7 separate regions of the Homo sapiens genome follow, and all the other regions are linked to region 6. The links are contacts of gene promoters, found by promoter capture Hi-C in blood cells and fetal thymus (Javierre and others, 2016). All regions are on one chromosome and are shown on one strand. The core of a region is centred on a gene start or on the middle of the fragment in contact, and the rest is flanking DNA. Distances in the headings are between cores, read along the strand shown. Region 1 overlaps KMT2C (lysine methyltransferase 2C). Region 2 overlaps KMT2C (lysine methyltransferase 2C). Region 3 overlaps KMT2C (lysine methyltransferase 2C). Region 4 overlaps KMT2C (lysine methyltransferase 2C). Region 5 overlaps KMT2C (lysine methyltransferase 2C). Region 6 holds the start of XRCC2 (X-ray repair cross complementing 2). Region 7 overlaps KMT2C (lysine methyltransferase 2C).

What was found. The method cuts DNA at HindIII sites, captures the fragments that hold promoters and counts their contacts. A CHiCAGO score of 5 or more calls a contact.
Region 1: a contact is called between a fragment that was not itself captured here and the fragment with the promoter of XRCC2 in region 6, in 12 of 17 cell types (naive CD4 T cells, activated CD4 T cells, erythroblasts and 9 more). The highest score is 8.2, in naive CD4 T cells.
Region 2: a contact is called between a fragment that was not itself captured here and the fragment with the promoter of XRCC2 in region 6, in 7 of 17 cell types (monocytes, total B cells, erythroblasts and 4 more). The highest score is 9.0, in monocytes.
Region 3: a contact is called between a fragment that was not itself captured here and the fragment with the promoter of XRCC2 in region 6, in 5 of 17 cell types (fetal thymus, erythroblasts, naive CD8 T cells and 2 more). The highest score is 8.5, in fetal thymus.
Region 4: a fragment that was not itself captured here is called in contact with the fragment with the promoter of XRCC2 in region 6 in 6 of 17 cell types (erythroblasts, total CD4 T cells, total B cells and 3 more); the score reaches 9.2 in erythroblasts.
Region 5: a contact is called between a fragment that was not itself captured here and the fragment with the promoter of XRCC2 in region 6, in 6 of 17 cell types (total CD4 T cells, naive CD4 T cells, megakaryocytes and 3 more). The highest score is 7.5, in total CD4 T cells.
Region 7: a fragment that was not itself captured here is called in contact with the fragment with the promoter of XRCC2 in region 6 in 1 of 17 cell types (total CD4 T cells); the score reaches 5.4 in total CD4 T cells.

What each region holds. Positions count from the first base shown.
Region 1 is chr7:152,249,968-152,253,073 of GRCh38, forward strand. KMT2C (lysine methyltransferase 2C) reads right to left here. Exons shown (of 59, transcript NM_170606.3): 10 at 2,579-2,748; 11 at 1,972-2,123; 12 at 886-999. Among named protein-coding and RNA genes, the nearest start is that of KMT2C, 180 kb to the right of the region's middle. The HindIII fragment of the contact is 2,375 bases long and covers 481-2,855 here.
Region 2 is chr7:152,310,245-152,313,295 of GRCh38, forward strand. It overlaps KMT2C (lysine methyltransferase 2C), which reads right to left. Exons shown (of 59, transcript NM_170606.3): 5 at 1,554-1,702. Among named protein-coding and RNA genes, the nearest start is that of KMT2C, 120 kb to the right of the region's middle. The HindIII fragment of the contact is 6,484 bases long and covers 1-3,051 here.
Region 3 is chr7:152,194,568-152,197,806 of GRCh38, forward strand. KMT2C (lysine methyltransferase 2C) reads right to left here. Exons shown (of 59, transcript NM_170606.3): 28 at 1,340-1,444; 29 at 1. Among named protein-coding and RNA genes, the nearest start is that of GALNT11, 170 kb to the left of the region's middle. The HindIII fragment of the contact is 2,512 bases long and covers 294-2,805 here.
Region 4 is chr7:152,176,010-152,179,129 of GRCh38, forward strand. KMT2C (lysine methyltransferase 2C) reads right to left here. Exons shown (of 59, transcript NM_170606.3): 38 at 182-2,001. Among named protein-coding and RNA genes, the nearest start is that of GALNT11, 150 kb to the left of the region's middle. The HindIII fragment of the contact is 5,531 bases long and covers 1-3,120 here.
Region 5 is chr7:152,328,771-152,332,265 of GRCh38, forward strand. It overlaps KMT2C (lysine methyltransferase 2C), which reads right to left. Exons shown (of 59, transcript NM_170606.3): 3 at 1,831-1,969. Among named protein-coding and RNA genes, the nearest start is that of KMT2C, 110 kb to the right of the region's middle. The HindIII fragment of the contact is 2,680 bases long and covers 641-3,320 here.
Region 6 is chr7:152,674,524-152,677,668 of GRCh38, forward strand. XRCC2 (X-ray repair cross complementing 2) reads right to left here and starts at 1,618. Exons shown (of 3, transcript NM_005431.2): 1 at 1,518-1,618. The coding sequence starts at 1,556. RefSeq lists silencers at 1,005-1,094, 1,395-1,864 and an enhancer at 1,095-1,939. The HindIII fragment of the contact is 16,438 bases long and covers 373-3,145 here.
Region 7 is chr7:152,286,148-152,289,301 of GRCh38, forward strand. The region is part of intron 6 of KMT2C (lysine methyltransferase 2C); the gene reads right to left. Among named protein-coding and RNA genes, the nearest start is that of KMT2C, 150 kb to the right of the region's middle. The HindIII fragment of the contact is 3,426 bases long and covers 117-3,154 here.

The DNA.
Region 1 (3,106 bases), core at 418-2,917, 420 kb before region 6:
TTTATAAAATCTCTAAGGAGTCAAAATTTCTGTAACACTGTTCCCTCAACAGTAATTTGAGTAAAGAGTTTTATTCTACTAAATGTCAATTTCCAATATAAGCATGAAACATTGTACCACTTATTAGTAAGTTATGAAGACAAAATTAGAAGTCTTTGCACTATGGTAAAAATTTTTTAATTGTCTTTTTCTCTTTTTCTTTAACAACTAGACCTCACAAGAAAGATTATAGAAAATAATTTTAATGAGAGTTATTATACGTAAACTTAATAAATTTCAAAACATCTCAGTGGCTTTTTATGTATACATTATAATTTTTATGTATACTATATAATTGAACATACAACTTCACATACAACACCAAAGACTTTCAGATGAGCCTGTGATTAAATGTAACAAGTAGTTTTCCCCCAACATGGTCTCTTATTAATTCCAGATCTGCAAGTACAATAATAGCTCTTATCAATATTTACTACAAAAAGCTTAATTGAAACATCATGGAAATAAGTGAAATAACCCTCAATAGGACTGCTGAGATGATCCAATACAGTAAATTTTTCATTATCTCAGCATGAAACATCTCATCATCAGCAACAGCTCTACTTAGCAACTACAACTAAAGAAATAAAAATACGAATTGCTTTTTAATAGAAAATCACTTGGTCCCTTAACCAAGTAAGTACTTATGATTAAGTCTAGATGGTAGCTGAACTACAAATACACGCATGTCCTTTCTCCTATTAATTTGTCTAAGATTATTTTACTAAAAAACTCTTCCTAAGTGACTGCATCTTGGCTTTTACTGAAGTTTTAGTCAATATTCACATATTTATTGTATATACACATTTTCTTCAAAAACAGAGTATATCCATTAAACATTCTTACCATCTGGAACAATTCCAGGAGTGGACTCCTGACCGTTGACATCTTTATTAGCTGCCTGCTCTGAGAATACCATTTGATCTTCAGGGCCTTCAACTTCCATTTCATTGTTATAATCTTAACAAAAAATTATTAATTCTTTAGCTCAGAATGAGTTTTTTTCTTTGTTCATTAAGTCAACAATTATGATTTTGTATGAGTAAGGGCAAATCATCACCAAAAATGCTTTAAGTTTTTCTTCAGATTTTTCTCTGTTGAACCACATGTATATTTACATTTTTAAAAAACATGAAAATTATAATGCATCAAAAGGTGGGCCAACCGTGGTAGTTCATGCCTGTAATCCTAACACTTTGGGAGGCCAAGACGGAAGGAACGCTTGAAGCCAGGAGTTCAAGACCAACCAGGCCAACATAGTGAGAACCCATCTCTAAAACAATTTTTTTTAAAAGGTAACTGGCACATTATTTTAAAAGGATATTTCAAAACTAAATACTGATGGCATTCTGGAAATGAAAGGTTAGTAATTAAGATGTTTAGTTATCCTTGAAGATGATAAAGAGAAGTTTTACAAAAGCTGCCACTCATAATGATGAAAATGAAAAACAATCTGGCGAGCAGTTCTATTTCCTTTACTCTCTAAGACTCATGTTTTTAACAGTAGGATACTACTAAAAATATTCCATACCTGAACAAAATCTTGGGCTGAAAAGGTGATAATTAACTTAAGAAGGACATTACAAAACTACAACATGCTTAGAGAAAAATAACCCACATTATAAAGAACAAACTAAGCAAACCCAAAGACTGGGGAACTTCCACTGTCGGCCTGAAGAACACAAGTGAAGGAAAGCACACTAGACCCGGAATTCAAATACTAAAAAAAACTATCTTAAGTTAGATTAGATTTTAGCCATCAGATTCAGAGATGACCAAGATAACAAATACATTTAAAGGTTGAGAAACTGAGAACAAGATGGAATCTGGAATACAGGATCCTCTCTTCCTGATTAAAGCAATATATTGGTGATACAATGGCACAACATTACAAAAACAAAAAATTTAAAAAAAAATCATTCTCAAATTTACCTGTAGTGAGCTCAGCTATCTCCACTTCCTCACCTGGCTGTAAACGATCCATCTCAGCTCCCAGGTGTTTACAATACATGCAGATATACTCTTCTTTGAGCTGAGTATCCAGTTCATGATCTGTTGGTTTGTCACACTCTAGGTGAACCCACCTGCAGTGATAAGTATACTTAAATAAAAATTTCTAACATCGAGTTATTATCTAGGTAAAGAGAAGGCATTGCTGAAAAGCTGGATATGAAAACAGTTAATTAAGTATGAGAGGAGAGAGGTTAGAGGAGTTGCTAACTGACAAAGGTTTTTTAAAGCACATTTGTGCATGTCACTAGAGATGCTGCCGTATTTTTACTTGACATTTTTAAGCTATTTTCTCTTTACTTTTCCCTATTAGTGCTCATTTCTGATGTGGTCTGGTCTTATCTTTTGCCCATTTACTTCCTTATGCCTTTGAGACTCAAAAACATCATTTAATTCCATCTATAACAGCAATCAGTACTGATGGAATTGCTAGAGTGATAAAAACTTAGAAGCTGTAAGATGGTAGAGCAAATGACCACATGAATAAAACAATCGACAAAACAACTGAATAGAATAACTATCTTCTTACCTTTTGCACATATTACAATGAAGCATGTCTTTCTGCAATTCTGGATGATAACACTTCCCACAGAAGGGACATAAGTTATCCTGCTGTTGGTAACAATTGTCACATATCAGGCAATTGTGGTGCCACTGAGAACTAGACCGTGTGCCACACTCTATACATATTCTGCAATTCTAAACACCAGGAAAAATAAAAACAAAAACAGTTTGTTATGCATTTGTAATTGTAGTTCTGATGTAAACCTTTAAAAAGTCATGAATCATTTGTGGATTATACATTAAGCTTTTATTTTCATGACACTAATTTAGGGTACATGCTTTTTTTTTTTGAGATGGACTCTTACTCTGTTGCCCAGGCTGGAGTGCAGTGGCGCAATCTTGGCTCACTGCAACCTCTGCCTCCTGGGTTCAAGTGATTCTCTCCTGCCTCAGCCTCCTGAGTAGCTGGGACTACAGGTGTGTGCCACCACACCCAGCTAATTTTTGTGTTTACTAAAGACACAGGGTTTCACCATGTTGGCCAGGCTCATCT
Region 2 (3,051 bases), core at 20-2,519, 360 kb before region 6:
AGTGCCAGTATCAATATCAAACTGAGAAATTCTTAGAAATACAGAATCTGTCTGGGTGCAGTGGCTCACTCCTGTAATCTCAGCACTTTGGGAGGCCAACGCTGGTGGATCTTTTGAGGCTGGGAACTTGAGACCAGCCTGGCTAACATGGCAAAACCCTGTCTCTACAAATTAGCTGGGCGTGGTGGTGCACGCCTGTAATTCCAGCTACTCAGGAGGCTGAGGCATGAGAATCGCTTGAACCCAGGGGACAGAGGTTGCAGTGAGCTGAGATCGCACCACTGCACTCCAGCCTATGCAACAGAGCAAGACTCCGTCTCAAAATAAAAACCAAAAAAATGCAGAAGCGCAGATCACAAGTGAGATCTACTGAATCAAAAACTCGTGCAGTGGGGCCCAGCAATCTGTGTTTGGTTCTGTTTTTTTTTGTTGTTGTTGTTTTGTTTTGGTTTTGAGACAGGGTCTCACTTTTTTTGTTGCCCAGGCTGAAGTTCAGTGGCATGAACACAGCTCACTGCAGCCTCAACCTCCAGGGTTCAAGCAATCCTCCTGTCTCAGCCTTGCCAAATAGCTGGGACTACAGGCACATGCCACCACACTCCGGGAATTTTTTTCATTTTTTGTAGAGACAGGGTTTCACCATGTTGCCCAGTCTGGTCTTGAACTCCTGAGTTCAAGCGATCCACCTACCTCAGCCTGCCAAAGTGCTGGGATTACGGGCTGTGAGCCACCGTGCCCTGCCAGCAATCTGTGATTTAACAAGCCGTCTGGTTATTATGATGCACACACAAGTTTAAGAATAACTGAATTAGTGATTATTTCTTCAACAAACAAAATTAGTTTTTAGTCATTTTATTTAAATATTATATATGTATTTGATATGTTTCTGGTATCTTTATATAAAGCAAACAAAGTATTACTTAGTACTTTGTTGAGGTGATATACAAAGGAAATGTATAGAAAATAAACTACACATACACCTCTACTTCCCTCATCCCACAGTGAGAGCACGTATCAATGATTATTAACACTTCAGCCTTTAAATTATCCATCACATAACACTTGAACCACTATCAGTCAATCTGCAGTTCAACTACAGAATGAGATGTACTTTAAATTCCAGTAGCACCATATCATGAGTGCTGAGTTACAATACTGTTATAATAAGATAATCTACCCGGCTAAGACCTATTTTCATTCATGCCCAAATAAAATAGACTCAGAATGCCACATTCCCCAAGTTCTCACTTTAAAATTTTCCCCTTTAAAATTTTCTCTTTTCTCAATTGTCAGATCTCCATGGCACCGCTATCTACACAAGAAAAAATACAAGTATTTTAAAAAGCATCCAGTCCGGTGGTGGTACTGTACAGATTTTAAATAGATAAACCTTTTCTTTTACCTAACCAGGCATATTTAATAATGATTTTTTTATAGTATGATTATAATTATTTCTAGATGAAAGGTATTTATTATTGAGGACATTAATAATGTATTAAAATTAAAATGCTTCCAGAATTAAGAGGCAGTCATTATTGAAAACATGCCCATACCTGTAGAATCAAATAAGGCTTGGATATCAATGGCATCTGGAAGCCCAACCAGACTGAGTTCATCCCACAGTTTACCAGCTTGATCATCTGAAGCTGTCTGGGTGCTTACACTTACACAAGATACTATATTCTGCTGAGGAGATCGTTCTCTGAAAATAAAATAAAATAACTGTGAAAGTGAAAACAAGCAGAAAATTGTTTCATTTTTAACTGTTTAAATGCAATGTACTGCCAAATCAATTTTAATTTATCAGCCATTAACTGTCATAAAACAACTTTTAGAATTCATCTGTTAGTATTATCCATGGTATAATATTAAACTGGGTTGCCATATTATATCGTATAAGTAACAAGTAAGAAAAAGAGTCTCCAAACCCACAGGGAAGTATTAAATTGTAAATTTGTTTTTCCATTCCATAATATAATGTTTTTAAAACCAACTCTCATATCCTAGTCAGGAATTGTATTTAACACATAAACTGAGTATTTCCTTTGGCTTTACTTAAACGCTTACAAAACAAAACTTGATCAAATCAGAAATGTTTAGTCTGCTGTATCTTGACTGAGGACTGCCACAACAGAGGTGGCAGTTAACTGTGTAAAGAAAGGATATTTTCCAGGGAAAATGAAAACCCACTACAGAGTGTGAAAACAGAGGCAGGAGGAATGGAATGTATCAGCTGTAGCTTTCTTATGGTCCCGTCAACAAATCTCAACAGCTGGTCTGTGGCATGACGTTGCAAGTACTCTCAATCAAGACTGTATGTCACAAATTGGAAGTAAAAAGCAAAAGCAAAATAGCTACCAAAGGCATGTAGAATAAGGAAGATAGTATAACAGCAAAAACTATAGTCTAAAAAAAGAACATTGAATAAAGTAAACAACATATGGGAGATTTCAGGCTTTCAAGGTCTAACACTTTAGGTATTATTTAAGACCATTAAATAAATAAAAATGGCTATTGTACTTAATTATTAAATATGGGAAATCAGATGACTACCACTAAAACTTAAATCTTCTCCTAATATCATAGTATTTAACCTGATCATAATTCTGGATTAAATCACTATTGAATATAGATCATAACTCACTGCACTTCTGTATGCTGGATATTTATCATGATTCCTATTAAGAGAAAATCAGCACAATGACCAGGGTACTAAACATTTTTATACCTGGAATCATTGAAAGAAAAAAAGTATTAACATATTTCAATAAGTACATTTAAATATCAAACCATATAAAAATAACCAGTAATGTTTTTATGTTCAGCATTAGAAATGCATAGACTTTTTTTAAAAGGTATAGCATGCTATGCTAACTTTAAATTCTCATTTTAATAAATGCCCACAGTAAAATGAGAACAAATTCTTTCCTATAAGTATAATCTCTATTCCTACAAATATATGCTCCATTACAAATCATTGTTATTTTATTGGGAGAAAAAAAAAAGACCAACAGTTCATCTATAACTACTAAATGTTGTTTTAGCATACTG
Region 3 (3,239 bases), core at 300-2,799, 480 kb before region 6:
TCTACAAGAGTAAGGAAAATAAATTTAAAGGTACATTCAGAATACTCACACAAAAATGTATAGCACTATTTACCTGTACTTAGTATATAACAATATGATTAAAATAGAGAAATAAAGTCTGTAATTCTGAATCAGAATTCTCATATCAATTTGGAGAGTCGCTCAGTAAAAATTAGGCACAATATATTTGTATTCGGTGCCATGTAAAGTTCTATTTCAAGTAAAAACATTTCCTGAGGAATAAAAGAATACATCTGATTTTAACTTGCCAACTCCTGCCAAAAAAAAAAAAAAGCTTAAGATAGGAGTTTATGAGAAATCGATATGCAAATAATTGCTTTAATTTGGAAAATAGTGTTATCAAATGTACAGTTCAATTATTATGCACAGTATGTAAAAAGGAATATGTTTCATATGAATTAATGAAAAGCCCTAAAATGCTCAGTGTTTAATATTATCCTTTGTAAATAACTTCAATTATAGGTAATATTTTTAAAGTATTCTATAGGCACATTCTGATTATGTACATTACATTTTATAAAATTGTAACATGCTGCAGCTCAAATTTGTAAGAGTCACATGTAAAAGTGGTTTATCATCTACATTTTTTTCATGCTTTCTCAATATTATTACTATTAAAAAGTAAAAATTTAGTCTGTTCTTATTTGATCTTATATTAGGAACTAGCTCTACGACATTTAGGTAATATTGTAAACCACATATTAACAAAAATAAAATTATTCATTAAAGAAAAACTACTGAGAAAGTCACCCGAAGTACAGTACAGCTATACTATGCTTTAGCCACACACAAAAAGGGAAAAGCAAAGTATGGATTAGTGACAAATTAGCACTACTGATAAACAGCATGCACCTACAGGTTGTTTCAGCTGAAATCACTATAAAAAAAGAAGACTACTTCTAGTCAGCCGTCATCCATTGCTCAGTTTCTTACCAAATGGAAAAGGTGAGCTCTCAACCTGGAAAGTGCATAAATCAAGACCTATAAGACCCAAACCAAATAAAATGGATGATTACCACAGGAGCAGGAAGTGAGGGAAAATACAAACAAAAGAAGAAAAAAGATACAGCAAGACTTTAAGGCAACATGCCTTAAATGTGATGCAATTAGAAAGACGACAGAAATTAACTAACTTGCTATACCCCTCCTAAAGCAGGAAAGCTGAGGCAGATCAAAGAAAATGCTGAGTCCTTTAACAAAGCCAAAAACAAAAACACAGTTACTGGGAAACAGACAAAAGGCTAAACTTGTTCCACACATCATACACCTCTCGCTCACATCAGAAACCAGAAAAAGGGTAAACAGTATTCATATATACCTGAATGATCAACTGATTTTGCTAGATCATCTGAAATTATTCCAAGAATGTCATCATCTGTGTTTAAAACTTCAGAAATATCAGCTAATGGGTCATCAGCAGGACCTAAATATAGTAAATATGTTTTTTAAAATTTCAGTATTTTCTCAGATATTAAGCCATTTGCTAAAAACCTAGAGTACAGCAGATACTGAGTGAGGCAAGTACTGGAATAAAAACCTGAGACTCTTAATTTTACAGTAAAAATTTTCCATAGCAAAGGAGATAATGTTTTGAATTACAAAAATTTACTAAAAATTCAGACGATTTTGTCTTGTGACTAATGTATATTGAGACAAAATTTAAAGACCTGTAGGCAATAAAAGTGAAACAGAATAAATGCTGTAAGAAACAAAGCAAAGAAAAAAAAGTTTTTCATTAAGAAAGTGGCATGTCTAAAAGTGACATTGAGAAATTAAAACACAGTAGGAAAAGTTAAAATATGAAAGACAAACCTGTCACTCTTTAGAAATTCCATATGGAGCACAAGCCAGAAATTCCATATGGAGCACAAGCCAGGTACCATCTAGTAACTACTTGCAGCTTTGCTGTTCATACTGATTACTCACTCATTTATTTTAAAAAGTATTTCACTACCCACAGAACTGTGTCTATGGATCACGTATCAGGCATTGCCCACTCAGTAATGACTGAAACAAAGTGCCTGCCCTCAGAGGGCTTACTTTCTCAGGGGGAGTTAGTAAATAAACGACATCGCTGTAAGTGCTATTTAAAGAAAAAACAAGGAAAAAGGATTAAAAATAAGCTGCGGGGATGTTGTATTAGACAGAGTGGTCTATGAAGACCTTTAGGAGATGACTGAGCATAAAACTAAATGAGGGAGTAAGTTATATGCACAAAGATGGAGATAACCCTCCAAACTAAGGCAAAGCAGACATAAAGCCCCTGGGGCAAGCCGGGTTTGCCAACGAGAGGCCAGAGTGTTAACAGTAAGAAAAACTGTGGTAAGGATAAAAAAGAGGCAGCTAGGGCAAGATTATGTTAAGATTTTAGAGATTATGGGGAAGACTGGGTTTTATTCTGAAGTGTAATGAGAAGTTGCTGGGAGGCTGAAAGATAGGAGATGACTAATATTTTAAAGGGAACATACTGGCTGCTATATGTAGAGCAGATGAGGGGTGGGAATTAGAGAGGGGCTGGTAAGATTAGAAAAGGGCACTGGTGCAGTCTGAGAGGTGAGGTGATGACAGCACCAGGGTTCTAAGGAAAGCTGAGACAAGTGGTCGGCTTTGGGACGTATTTTGAAGGCAGACACAAACGTGGATGAATGAAAGGGAAAGAAAAGTCAAGGAGGATTCTACGGGTTTGGGCTTAACCAAGAAACTATTGGAACTCTTGTTTAGGCTAGCTTTAATAATTATATTAGTCATTCAGTAAAGAGAAACTGAAATTTTTAATCCATCTCAAGCTTATTTTTACTTAAAAGGGGGAGGAGGGCATAAATGTAATATTCCAGGTCAAATACTTCTGTCAAACAGTCTTGGTCCCATTATATAGTTTTCAAAATGTAATTCATATGTAACATATCACATTAAGTTTTGCGTGCCCAAATATCCAGGAACTTTTTAGAGAAAATTATTTCAATAATGACAACACTGTAGTTGAATGAAAAAAAATCTGGATAATTTTTTTAGGAGTCATATAGCAGTTTTTTGTTTTAAAGTAATGGAATTCTACTATACAATTATAACTAATTTTTTAAAGACTGTTTTACAAGTTTGCCCCTACCTAAAGGATTTTATATCTGAATAAATCATTAAAATTGATATAATAGGCTACAATGAATGACATGTTAAAAAAAAGCCTTTAGTCATTAATTTTCCATTATAAAGTGAAAAGA
Region 4 (3,120 bases), core at 454-2,953, 500 kb before region 6:
TCCATCTTGGGTGACACAGTGAGACTCCGTCTCAAAACAAAACAAACAAACTCCTCAAGGAGGAATAGAAAAACTCAGTGCTTTATTCCAACTGTAATTCTAATAATAAAATCTTATAAGCATATCGCATGCCACTCTAATACCCATAGTAATATACGTTGAGACTCAAGAAAACTCCTACCAATATTAGGGAAGAACGGTTCTGATCGCTGACGAATCATGGCTTGCATCTGTCTTTGCTGCTGCTGTTCTTGCCTTTCTTGATCCAAAAGATCCTGTAGAAGTAGAGGCTGTTCTTCTAGAAGAAGGGGCCTCTCTCTATTCTGCTGTGCTAATGTTTGAGGAATCATTAGCTGTTGGGGTCCAGACATGCTACTGGTACCAGACTGACTTGTTTGAGGCCCAGTTTGAGTTGCAGGTTTTCCTGTCCCCAGACTGTGGTTAACTGTTGATTGACCTGGAATGAGCCCTGGGTTTACCTGCACACCCTGAGAAAAAACATGGTTTACCCTAGAGACTACTGTCACATTAGAATTCATGGCATTATCCAAAACACGGCCAGGCGGTGCTATGAAAGGAGGCAAACTTGACACATGATTGGATGGGGAGGCCGGCAGAGTTGGTGGTGGTGGAGACCCCGATGGCCTAATGTCTGAATTATCAGATTTCTCATTAGCAAGTAAACTTGAGAGAACTGGAGTTGATCCAGTTATGCCACAAGAGTTTATTACATCTTGAGCAGGTAGTTGAGTGGATGCCTGAATGACATTTGCACTGGGGCCAGCAGTTTCTCGATTGGTTCTTTTCTCAAATAGATCTGGATCACAAGGATGCAAAGAAGTCTTTTCTCCATCATTTAGGTCTGAGTGAGCAGAAGCCTGTGAGCAAGGAGTGTCAACATTATCTTTATTCTCATCATTTTTTTCAGTTTCACATTTGGATTCCACCTTAGAATTTGGAGACAGTACTTCCGTTTTTACCTCATTGGTAACAGTGGATTTTTTCTGTGGTGAATGTTTATCAGAGAGAACCAGAGTTTTGTTTTCTTGTTCCTTTTTTTTTGGTTCAACAGATACACACTGATTATCTAACTTATCATCAATTGGAAGGTCTAGTTCCTCATTAAACATGCTTTTCTTATCTCCCATGTCAAGTTCTGGATCTGTATATGCAATGATATCAAACTCTCCTGACCTTAAGAGGTCATCCAGGTTGGGATCATTAGTTTCCAAATTATCTAAAGTATCCAATTCAACTACCTTGCCATCCTCTGTATCTAAATTTAAGTTTTCAAGATCTTCATCATCTAAGTCTTTGACTTCAACCCCCTCAAGGTCTTTAACATCCAGTTCCTTCACAGAAGGGTCATCAGAATCAAGTTTTTCCTCTAGACCATCAGAAGGCTGGGTGGTTATCTGTAAATTATCAGACGTTGTTTCAGACGGTACAGATGTTGACAAAGGAGCTTCTGAAAATTCACCACCTAGTGGATGGTTCAGAGTCCTCATGACCATAGAAGATGAATGGACAGAATGACCTTGCTCTTGTTGAGATGGTGGCACTTGTTCCAAATCTGGGTGCACAGGTAGCTGATTAGGTAGACCCTGGGGAGGTCGTCGCATGGGGTCTGTGTGTCTAGGGCCCGGAAAGTCTGGCCGGGGAATGAAGTTTCCATGTCTCAGATTAGAAGATGCCTCTACAACGCTGCCAGGTGGAGCACTGAAAGGCAGCCGTTGCCTTCCGTCAGGAGCCCTATGTCTCAGTTCAATATATGCTTGGCCCAGTATGTTGTGCTGCTGAACTGGCAAGCTCTGTGGTGAAAAATGCTGAGGAAGTCCAACTGGATTATTCATTTGTGAGTTATTTAAAGGCCTAGGCATATCTACAGATACTGATCTTCTTAGCTGTGGAGAAACTCCAGATCCCTGTATTTGCTGAGGAGGCACAAGGAAGCGCTCTTGACTCGGCATGGTACCATGACTACCTCCTGGAAATCCAAATCTTTTAAAAAAAAAAAAAAAAAAAAAAAAAAAGCAAATAGGTATTATGTTAAATTTAGAGTTAAGTTGAAAAAAAGAAAAGTCTTCAATTAAACTGTACATACAAAATGTTGCCAAATACTATGACTTACAAAAGCAAAGCTATCACCATTAAAAAGTATTTACAGTATTCATATGCAAGTAAGATTTTGCTAAGAATCCTATAATGAACACCATATCTGAGCTCTAAAGGCTTAAGATTTAACAGATAACAAAAATGAAGACAAAGGAAGAACAACCAAGCAGATGAAATCAATTGTTCAGAGATAAGAACAATACTACTGGACTTTTTCAGGAAGAGTTTCTTTTATCTATATTTAGGGAGGTTCGATGGAGGAAGCTGATTCGGGGATGATGTTTGAATGAAGATAGGTCTTCATACCTATTGAGGGACTTACAGGCCTCAGTACATGAGACTACAAAGGCACAGGTTTGATGATGGGATAGAATAAACTTAGAGAAAAGGACAAGTAGGCCTCATCTATAAAGATTAAGTAAATGTATAAATTGTTGGACTATTTTATATTGTACTTCCTTCTAGACAGGATTACAGGCAACTTACACAGAATACAAAGCATAGCAAGAGGCATAAATTATAACAAGGTGGAAGAAAAAAGGGAAATTAAGAGTAAGATTACAGGCAACTTACACAAAATATAAAATGCAGAAAGAGGCATAAATTACAACTAAGGTAGAAGAAAAGGAAACTAAAAGAATATAACATGGAGGTAGAGATATAAGACTAAAAGACATAAAACTAAAAAGCATATCTTAAAGAACTATTTCCTTATTATAACTAGGGCATAGGTTTGGCTTTGACTTTAGCCACTTTGAAAAAGGAAACATTCTTATGATTCATCACCACTAACTTACAACCCTATCTCACCATGGAAAGTTCCTAAAGGGAAAGTCCTTTCAGTTCGGAAATCTCTAAAATTTATTATTATTATTTTTTAAATTGAGACAGAGTCTCGTTCTGTCTCCCAGGCTGGAGTGCAGTGGCGTGACCTCGGCTCACTGCAACCTCCACCTCCTGGGTTCAAGTGATCCTTTTGTCTCAGCCTCCTGAGTAGCCGCGAAT
Region 5 (3,495 bases), core at 731-3,230, 350 kb before region 6:
GTTTGGGTTATCGAGTTGAGCTACAAGGTATGAGAAAAGATAGAAATCAAGGATTAACTTTCAAAGTTTCTGGACTAAACAACTGAGTGAATACTGGCATTATTTATTGAAATGAGGAAATCGTAGGGAGAAGCAGATTTGGGGCAGAGGTGGAGGCAGAATCAAGCATGGTACTGGACATGTTAAGGGTGAGGTGTCTAATACACTTCCAAATAGAGACGTCAAGCAGACAGTTGGACATAAAAGTCTGGAGTTCAGGTAAAGAAGAGTAACGGAAATGAACACGTGAGACTCTTAAGGGCACACACAGAGGTTACAGCCATTAGAATGAATGAGCTTTCTTTCCCAGGGAGTGAACAGAGACAAAAAGTAGACAAGATATCTGAGGACTTATCCTTAAGAACTCCAAAATTATAAACATGTAGAGTCTCCACAGCAACTAGCAAAAGATAAAATGAGGAGTGAGATGTCCCAAAAGCAAAAGAAAGAAAATGGTTCAAGAAGATGAGAGAGGTCAGGTGCAGTGGTTCATGCTTGCACTTCCACCACTTAGGGAGGCTGAGACAGGAGGATTGCTTTAGCCCAGGAGTTCCAGACCAACCTGGATAACATAAAGAGACCCAGTCTCTACCAAAAAAAAAGCTTAAAAATTAGCCAAGTATGGTGGCACACACCTGTAGTCCCAGCCACCTGGGAGGCTAAGGTGGGAGGATCACCTGAGCCTGGGAGGTTGAGCCTGCAGTGAGCTGTGATCACACTACTGCACTCTACCCTGGGCAACAGAGTAAGACCTTGCCTCAAAAAATAAAAAAAAAAAGAAAGGAAAGGAAGAAAAGGGAAGAGGAAAAGGAAGTAGAAGGGAAACGAAGGGAGGAAGGAGGGAGAAGGGATGGAGGGGAAGGAGGGAGAAAGGGAGGGAAGGAGGGCGGGAAGGAAGGAGGGAAAGAAGGGAGGGAGACAGGTAAGGAGGGAGGGAAGGAAGGAGATGGGAGTACCAAACTGATGGATAATTTCATTATTTTATTCATGTCTTTCAAATAAGGTCTAAAAACTCTTAAAACTTCAAAGCTGAATTATACAATGATATATTACAGGCCCAGTGTAGTGGCTCATGCCTGTAATCCCAGCACTTTGGGAAGCCGAGGCAGGTGGATCATGAGATCAGGAGATCGAGACCATCCTGGCCAACATGGTGAAACCCTGTCTCTACTAAAAACACAAAAATTAGCTGGGCATGGTGGTGCATGCCTATAATCCTAGCTACTCAGGAGCCTGAGGCAGAAGACTCTCTTGAACCAGGGAATTGGAGGTTGCAGTGAGCTGAGATGGCACCACTGCACTCCAGCTTGGTGACAGAGCAAGACGCCATCTCAAAAAAAGGGAGGGGGGGAGGGGTGGTGGGGGGGGGGAGAAAAAGAAAGAAAAAAAATAGGTTATAATGTCCTGTGTTTCCTTTTTTAATGAATGGGGAGAAGGTAAGGAACAAAACTATCAACTTAAGTTTACAGGTAAGTATCAAAAATTAATCCTCATGCTAAATGCTCACATTTATGTCTTCTGCCAGGAACAGCACATTGGTAATATTCTGTACTGGCCTGAGGTGACTAGAGTAAAACCGTAGTGTGCTGCCCTGCTCTACAATTGCCTAAGCCCACAGATGTAACTCATCCCAACTAAACACAGAGGTATCAGCTTCAAATTTAGCTACTAAATCATAAAATCCCACCCAGATTTTCATCCTAAACTCATACTCCTTGAATTTTCTCTATAGTCATTTCACTGCTTTATTCCTGTCACTAATATCCAATCCAGCTGCATTCATTCTCTAACCTGATTTTGGCTTCTACACCAACAGAGACCAGGGAGTTTGCCGATTCCTCAGACACAGATCGCTGAAGAGTTGGAATTAGCTGTTTGCTGTTATCCACTTCTGCTTCAGCATCCTCTTCTGCAGATTGTTCTTTGATTTCTGCTTAACAGTAAACAAGAGAAAACAAAGAGTCATTTTTGTGTTTATTTTAATCACTGGTGAATGTATCTATAAAGCATAGGTCATAATGTAAAAAGAAACAACAAATAACAATATTTCACTAACACAAGAAAAGTTCATGCACGTAATTAGTGGTATTGTGCATCTTTATTCTCTACCGCAAAATGATTATCAAAATAATGTGAAGCATGGTATACTTTTCCTTGTGCCCAAATTATAGCTGACTCAGAGAAGTTTCATCCTAGTAATAAATGTTAAGAATCTTGGCCAGGCATGGTGGCTCATGCCTGTAATCCCTGCACTTTGAGAGGCCAAGGCAAGCAAATCCCTTGAGCTCAGGAGTTTCAGACTGGCCTGGGCAAGATGGTGAAACCTCATCTCAACAAAAAATGTAAAAATTAGCCAGGCAAGGTGGTGAGTGCTTATAATGTCAGCTACTCAGGAGGCTGAGATGGAAGGATATGCCTTGAACCTGGGAGCCAGAGGCTGCAGTGAGCTGGGATCGTGCCACTGTACTCAGGCCTAGGTGACAAAGCCAGACCCTGTCTCAAAAAAAAAAAAAGAATCTTATTTTTGGCCAGGTGTAGTGGCTCACACATGTAATCCCAGCACCTTGGGAGGCTGAGGCAGGCATATTGCTTGAGCCCAGTAGTTCAAGACAGCCTGGGAAACATGGTAACACCCCATCTCTACAAAAAATTAGCTAAGCATAGTGGCACACACCTGTAGTCCTAGCGACTCTGGTGGCTGAGGTGGGAGAATCAATCAAGCCCCGGCAGCGGAGGCTACAGTGAGCTGTGATGGCACCACTGGACTCCAGCCTAAGCAACACATCTAGATCCTACCTCAACAACAACAACAACAACAACAACAACAAAAAGATTTTTTTTTTTTTTTTTTTTTTTTTGATGGAGTCTCGCTCTGTCCACCCAGGCTGGAATGCAATGGCGCGATCTCGACTCACTGCCACCTCTGCCTCCCGGGTTCAAGCAATTCTCCTGCCTCAGCCTCCTGAATAGCTGGGATGACAGGCGCCCACCACCATGCCTGGCTAATTTTTGTATTTTTAGTAGAGACTGGGTTTCACCACGTTGGCCAGGCCGGTCTTGAACTCCTGACCTCAGGTGATCCACCTGCCTCGGCCTCCCAAAATGCTGGAATTACAGGCATGAGCCACTGTGCCCGGCCAAAAAAAAATCTTATTTCAGGATTATAGCAATTGGTCTACAGAACAAATGTATTTCAAAGTGACTCATTAAAAATTGCTTCACACTTTATAAAATCATCATTAAAAGACTCATCATGTATCTTAATTATTACCCATTCTAAAAGCTTAATATTTGAAAAGGACAAACCTTCACTTTATTGCCTTTTTCCATTCTCCTTGAATCCAACCCCAAACACCTTAAATGTTCTTTCTCAGGAGGCAGCCTAACAGCTGAGAGGATTTCCACACACCACTACCCCTAACATCATTCTTCTTGTTTAATAAAAATTATATGTCC
Region 6 (3,145 bases), core at 368-2,867:
ATCGCTTGAACCCGGGAGGCGGAAGTTGCAGTGAGCTGAGATGGCACCATTGCACTCCAGCCTGGGCAACAGAGCGAGAGTTCATCTCAAAAAAATATATATTTATATATAAAAAATATGTTTATATGTATTATATACTTTCTATATAATCTATATTATAAATATATTTTTAAATATATATTTATATAATATATTTTTAAATATATATTATATATAAATATATTTTTAAATATATATTATATATAAATATATTTTTAAATATATATATATCTATGGTTTATAACTGTAGCCGTTCTTATACTAAGCAGTGGTTCTACTCTTTAGGAACAGGGATTATCAAACTATGGCCAGCAGGCTAAATCCAAAAAACAAAGCTTTATTGGAACGCTGCCATGTGCCTTTATTTATCTATGACTGCCTTCCCATTAGAACAGCAGAGTTGAGTGGCTGTGACAGAAACGGCATGGCCTGCAAAGCCTAAATATTTACCACATGGCCCTCCACAAAAATGTTTGCTGACTCTTTTGAGATTGCTTCCTCTCTCATCTGCATAAAAGATCCTTCATACCCTGCCCACTGCTCAGCGCTTACTTCCCAACCTATTGTCCCTCACTCCCTTTGTTCCAATTTTACAGAAATACTTGCAGTTATCTAAATTAGCCATGCTCTTGCTTAATTCAGAATCCATGTACTCCCGACTGTCTCCGCTCTGAATGTCATCCTCTCCTTGCCAAACCATTTCAAATGGTCCTTGAAACTTCAGTCATCTCCTCCTGCATCTTCCATGATGCCCGCCCCTCTAATGGACAACAAACTTTTGTGCAATACTGTAATTCTTACAGCAGCCTCCCTTACTAGTTCTTTAATGGCAGAAGTTATGTCTTTTGTTGCTTACTCCTATCCCTTAACACGTAGTTGACACACAGTAAGTGCTGGACACTTGGTTCAATTCTTGAGGGGCATCCACCGGCTTGTGTGGCTCTGGAGCTACCTGGGCTGGAAACGAATACTAGGGGGTGGCGAGGGCCAGCTGCCCTAAGCAGAGACACGTGGGCTACAGGGAGGTGAGGCAACCTCCGCAAACACCACCTGTTCCAGAAAAGCTCCAAATGCTCCAACGGGCGACCCCTCCCCTTTTCTAGCTTTTCTTGCATAGCTTGACATTTCCAACGGTAGTTAATTTGTGAGGGGTTTTTAGACCATAACTCTTGGGAGGAGAGACCTCGTATGTTATATCGATCTGGGCAGGCAGCAAGTCTTCCAAAGAAAGACTTCCTCCACCTCCGCCCGGTCCTCCCACCTCGGAGGACTCCAGGCTGCCCAGGGGCGGACCCCTGGGGCCCAGGTGAGAGGTGGCAGAGGGTGCCAGCATCGCGGGCGTCTAGGCCGAGAGGCCGGTCCCAGCCCGGCCAGGCCGCGCCGCCCCAAGCCTCCCAATCCCCCGGGTTCCCTCGGCTCCCCTCGCCCACCGGCGGCCTTGTTCCCATCTCCCTCACTCCCAACCCGGCGGCTCTCACCTCGGTCCCAGACTCAGCCCTATGGAAGGCACTACACATCGCCCCGAAGGCTCGGCGCAGGAGAGACTCAACTTTCCCGCCACCAACGCCATTCACCAACTGCGCAGACTCTACGGCCAGTCAAACCCGCCCACCCGCGCGCGTGCGCACTGCGCCAGGCCGCGGCCGGGGAGGCGGGAGCATGCGCAATAGGGTGTGCGGGCCTCCCCGCCCCGCCCCCAGTTCCTGTGACGTCAGACTTCCGCGTCCCCCGCGGCGCTCTCCCGCGTCCCCTTGGAGATCGCTCCGGGGTGGCGGGGACAGCTGGTGCTTTTCTTGTCTGTTGTAAACTTTGGTTCGTTATTATTATATTAGGTAAAGCTGGTCTTATGTATTAATTTGTTTAACCATTAAAAATAATTGTATTGCACAAGCAGGCCCCTTTGTCCGTTCTCGGGTTAAAAGCCTCTGGCTGTGTGTGCGATTCATGGTTAATTCTGGAAAAAAAGAGAAAAGTATACTGTATTTAAAAGAATTTTTAAAATATACCGAGCCTGTGGATTTATCAAGTTGCTTTTTGAGGTAGGCAGGAGGATCACTGGAAGTCGGGAGTTCGAGACCAGCCTGGCCAAAATGGTGAAACCCCGTCTACAGTAAAAATACAAAAATTAGCCAGGTGTGGTGGCGCATGCCTGTAATCCCAGCTACTCAGGGAGGCTGAGGCAGGAGAATCGCTTGAACCAGGGAGGCAGAGGTTGCAGTGAGCCGAGATCGCGCCATCACACCTGAGCGGCAGAGCGAGACTCTGTCTCAAAAAAAAAAAAAGACAAAAATTTGGATATAGTAGCATTGGCCATTATTATCAAGATGACAAAATGTTTTCTGGAATGAAAAAGTTTCATGCAAAGATATACTTTTCACCCACCTAGTTTAGTTTTCAAAAACGCTAGGAAAGAGCATATACCAATGAAGTATTTCTCATGGGTAATATTAAAGTTGCTCATTTTGTAAATTGGAATGGTTTTGGTTCCAAGTCACAGAAAACCCAACTCTTACGTCCTGAAACAAATGGGCTTTACCGGGTGACATCACTAGAAGTCCAAAGGTAAGACAGGCTTCAAGGTTAGTTTAATTGAGAGGCTTGATGAGGCAAACAAGTACCTCATTTCTTTTTACCTCAGATTCATGTTTTCTACCTTGGCCTCTTCTCTACGTAGGGCTGCGGGCCCGTATCTGAAACATTAACAACCATCAGGAATGAGGTTGGTCTGGTTAGCTTAGGCCTGAATCGTGTGCCCCACTTACTTTTCTTTTTTTCTTTTTTTTTTTTTTTTTGGAGACGGAGTCTCATTGCACTCTCGCCCAGGCTGGAGTGCAGTGGTACCATCTCGGCTCACTGCAACCTCTGCCTCCCGGGTTCAAGTGATTCTTCTGCCTCAGCCTCCCAAGTATCTGGGACTACAGGCACGTGCCACCACGCCAGGCTAATTTTTGTATTTTTAGTAGAGATGGGGTTTCACCATATTGGCCAGGCTGATCTCGAACTCCTGACCTTGTGATCTGCCTGCCTCGGCCTCCCAAAGTGCTGGGATTACAGGCGTGAGCCACCGCGCCTGGCCCTGTGTGCCCCACTTCTATCCGGAGTAGAG
Region 7 (3,154 bases), core at 580-3,079, 390 kb before region 6:
ACGAACAGACCCTCAGTAATCTACAAAATATCAAATATACTAACATTCATGTAATTAGAGTTACAGAGGAAGAGGAGAGAGAAATGAGACAGAAAAAGAATAAGAAATAAAAGTCAAGCTTTTCACAAATTTGGTGAAAAATATCAACTTACAGTTTCAAGAAGCTCAGCAACCCCCAAGCAGGATGAATACAAAGAAAACCACACCTAGGCACATCATAGTCAGACTGCTGAAAACCAAAGATAAAGAGAAAATCCTGAAAGCAGCCAGAGAATATCAAAACATTATTATATACATGGGAATAATGATACTACTGACACCACACCTGACTTCTCATTAGAAACCATGGAAGACAGGAAACAATGCAACATCTTTTAAATGCTTGAAGAAGAAAAACATAATCATCCCAGAACTCTGTATTCAGGGAAAAACAGCAAAAATGAATGCAGACTTCCACTTCCAGACAAAATGCAGAAAATGTACTTTTCCCTGTTCTTTCCACTAAATACAGCTTTAAAAACCCTTAGCCGTGATACATAAGACAAACAAAAGAAGACAACAAAATGTAGAGAGAGGGCAGACCAATTAGGGCTTCAGGAGCCAAGAAACAAAAGAGGATGAATTCCCTAGGTTTCCTTTCTGACTCATATATACAAGAAAAGTTGCTAGAGAAGCAGACAACTCAGAAACACCAACAGGCACACACATACGTAAAACTCCAAGAAAATTCTGCTGTCTTTTGTCAAAAAAGCAGGGAAGCGGCAGGCTACCAAGACAAAAAACTCATAGACAACAACAAACCAGTTTAAGCCAAATGGTACAAATAAAAGCCCAAGCCATATACCTTTTGCAAAGACTTAAAAGGAGGACATAGTCAGCCATTCCCCACTCCTGCCCACGGACAACATGATACCACAGCAGGCCAACTGGGACACAGGACATTCATACCCACTGAGCAGTAACGCGGCTTCCTCCCTCTAGAGTGTGGGTGGAAAAAAAGTGGGGAGCCTGAGTTCAACACCCACCCAGTGATAAGGACATATCCCTATCCCTCCCTCTACAGAGATATGACAGGAGAGGCCTATTGGAGAATCCAAACTCAAAGCACTGCCCAGTGATAACTTAACCACCCCTCCATCCCATTCAGTGGAGGCCAAGTGAAAAGCAGGAACCTTTTGAGCCAGGGTGGTATTCACAAAGGTGTAATGCAAGTCCAGAGTTTTCACTCCTACTCAGCATTTACTAGGTGTACGTCTCCATCAATGAGTCAACAAAGGCCTACTAAGGAACTGGAATCTTCACATACACCTGGGAGTAGTAACAAGGCTGTGCCCCACCTCCACCCCAAAAGCAAAGTTTCAGATAAATCCTACTAAAAGGGGGTATTTAAATAAAATGCAGAGCTTCATAACACAACACTTAAAATGCAAAGGATTCAACCAAATATAACATGTTATACCATACTAAGAACCAGGAAAATCTGAACAGGAATTTGAAAATATAGTCAAAAGGTGCAAACAATGAGAATTCATAGATGTCATAATTATCTATCAAAGATTTTAAACTATATAACACTGCTTCAACAAGCAATTACAGCCGGACACAGTGGCTCACGCCTGCAATCCCAGCACTTTGGGAGGCAGAGGTGGTTGGATCACTTGAGGTCAGGAGTTCGAGACCAGCCTGGCCAACATCATGAAACCCCATCTCTACTAAAAATACAAAAATTAGCCAGGCATGGTGGTGCACGCCTGTGATTCCAGCTACTCAGGAGGCTGAGGCATGAGAATCACTTAAACCCAGGAAGCAGAGGTTGCAGTGAGCTGAGATCATTTACTGCATTCCAACCTGGGCAACAGAGCAAGAGTCTGCCTCAAAAAAAAAAAAAAAAAAAAAAAGCAATTACAAACATACTTTTGAAACAAAGGAAACAATACAAAGTTTTGCAAAGAAATCAAGAAAGAAACAAATACCAAGTTGAAAACTAAAAAATATGCTAACAAAAATAAAATACAAACTAAGCTGAACAACAAAATGGGAGAGATTACCCAACCTAAACAAGAGAAGAAAATGAACTGATTTAAAAAAAAAAAAAAAAAAAAGTGGCCAGGTGCGGTCGCTCAGGCCTGTAATCCTAGCATTTTGGGAGGCCGAGATGGGTGGATCACCTGAGGTGAGGAGTTCAAGACCAGCCTGGCCAACATGGCAAAACCCTGTCTCTACTAAAAATACAAAAATTAGCTGGGCATGGTGGCACACACCTATAATTCCAGCGACTCAGGAGGCTGAGGCAGGAGAATCACTTAGACCCAGGGGCGGAGTTTGCAGTGAGCTGAGATCGTACCACTTCACTCCAGCCTGGGCAAAAGAGCAAAACTCTGACAATAAATAAATAAATAAATAAATATTTTTTTTTTAAAAAAGACATTAAAGACACTTGTGGGACTATAATAAGTGATGCAACATTCCTGTCACTGGAATCTCAGAAAAGGAACATGACGCAGCTGAACAATTATTCGAAGACCCACAGATTCAAGAAATTGAATAAATCCTAAGAGGATACACACAAATAAATCAATGCTAATATATATCATAAACTTCTGAAAACTAATGACTAAACTAAAAAACCCTGAGATAAATAAGAGAAATGACACCTTATCCACAGATGAAAAACAACTCAAATGACAGCAGATTTCTCACCTGAAACCATGGAGGCCAGAACAAAGCAGCATAACATTTTTGCAAGTCCTAAAAGAACTGACAACAAAGAATTCTATATCCAGCAAAAACATCCATTAGTAATGAAAGGGAAATCAAGAAATTGTGAGATGAATGAGAACTAAAAATTAGTCATGAGACAAAACTACACCAAAAGAATAGTGAGAAAAGTTATTGAACCAGAAAGGAGAATGATAAAAAGAAGGATTCTCAGAACATCCTGAAGGAAGAAAGAACAAACAAATAGTAAAAATATGGGCAATAAAACAGACTTTACTGTTCCTTGAGTTTTCAAAATAATGTTTAACAATTGAAGCAAAAATTGTTACACGATGCAAAAGCTATGGTGGGTAAAACTGTTGATGCATTTCCAAAACTGAAAGCAGTTGGCACCAAGCTGTATTAGAAGTTGTCACATTCTCAATTGGCACTACAA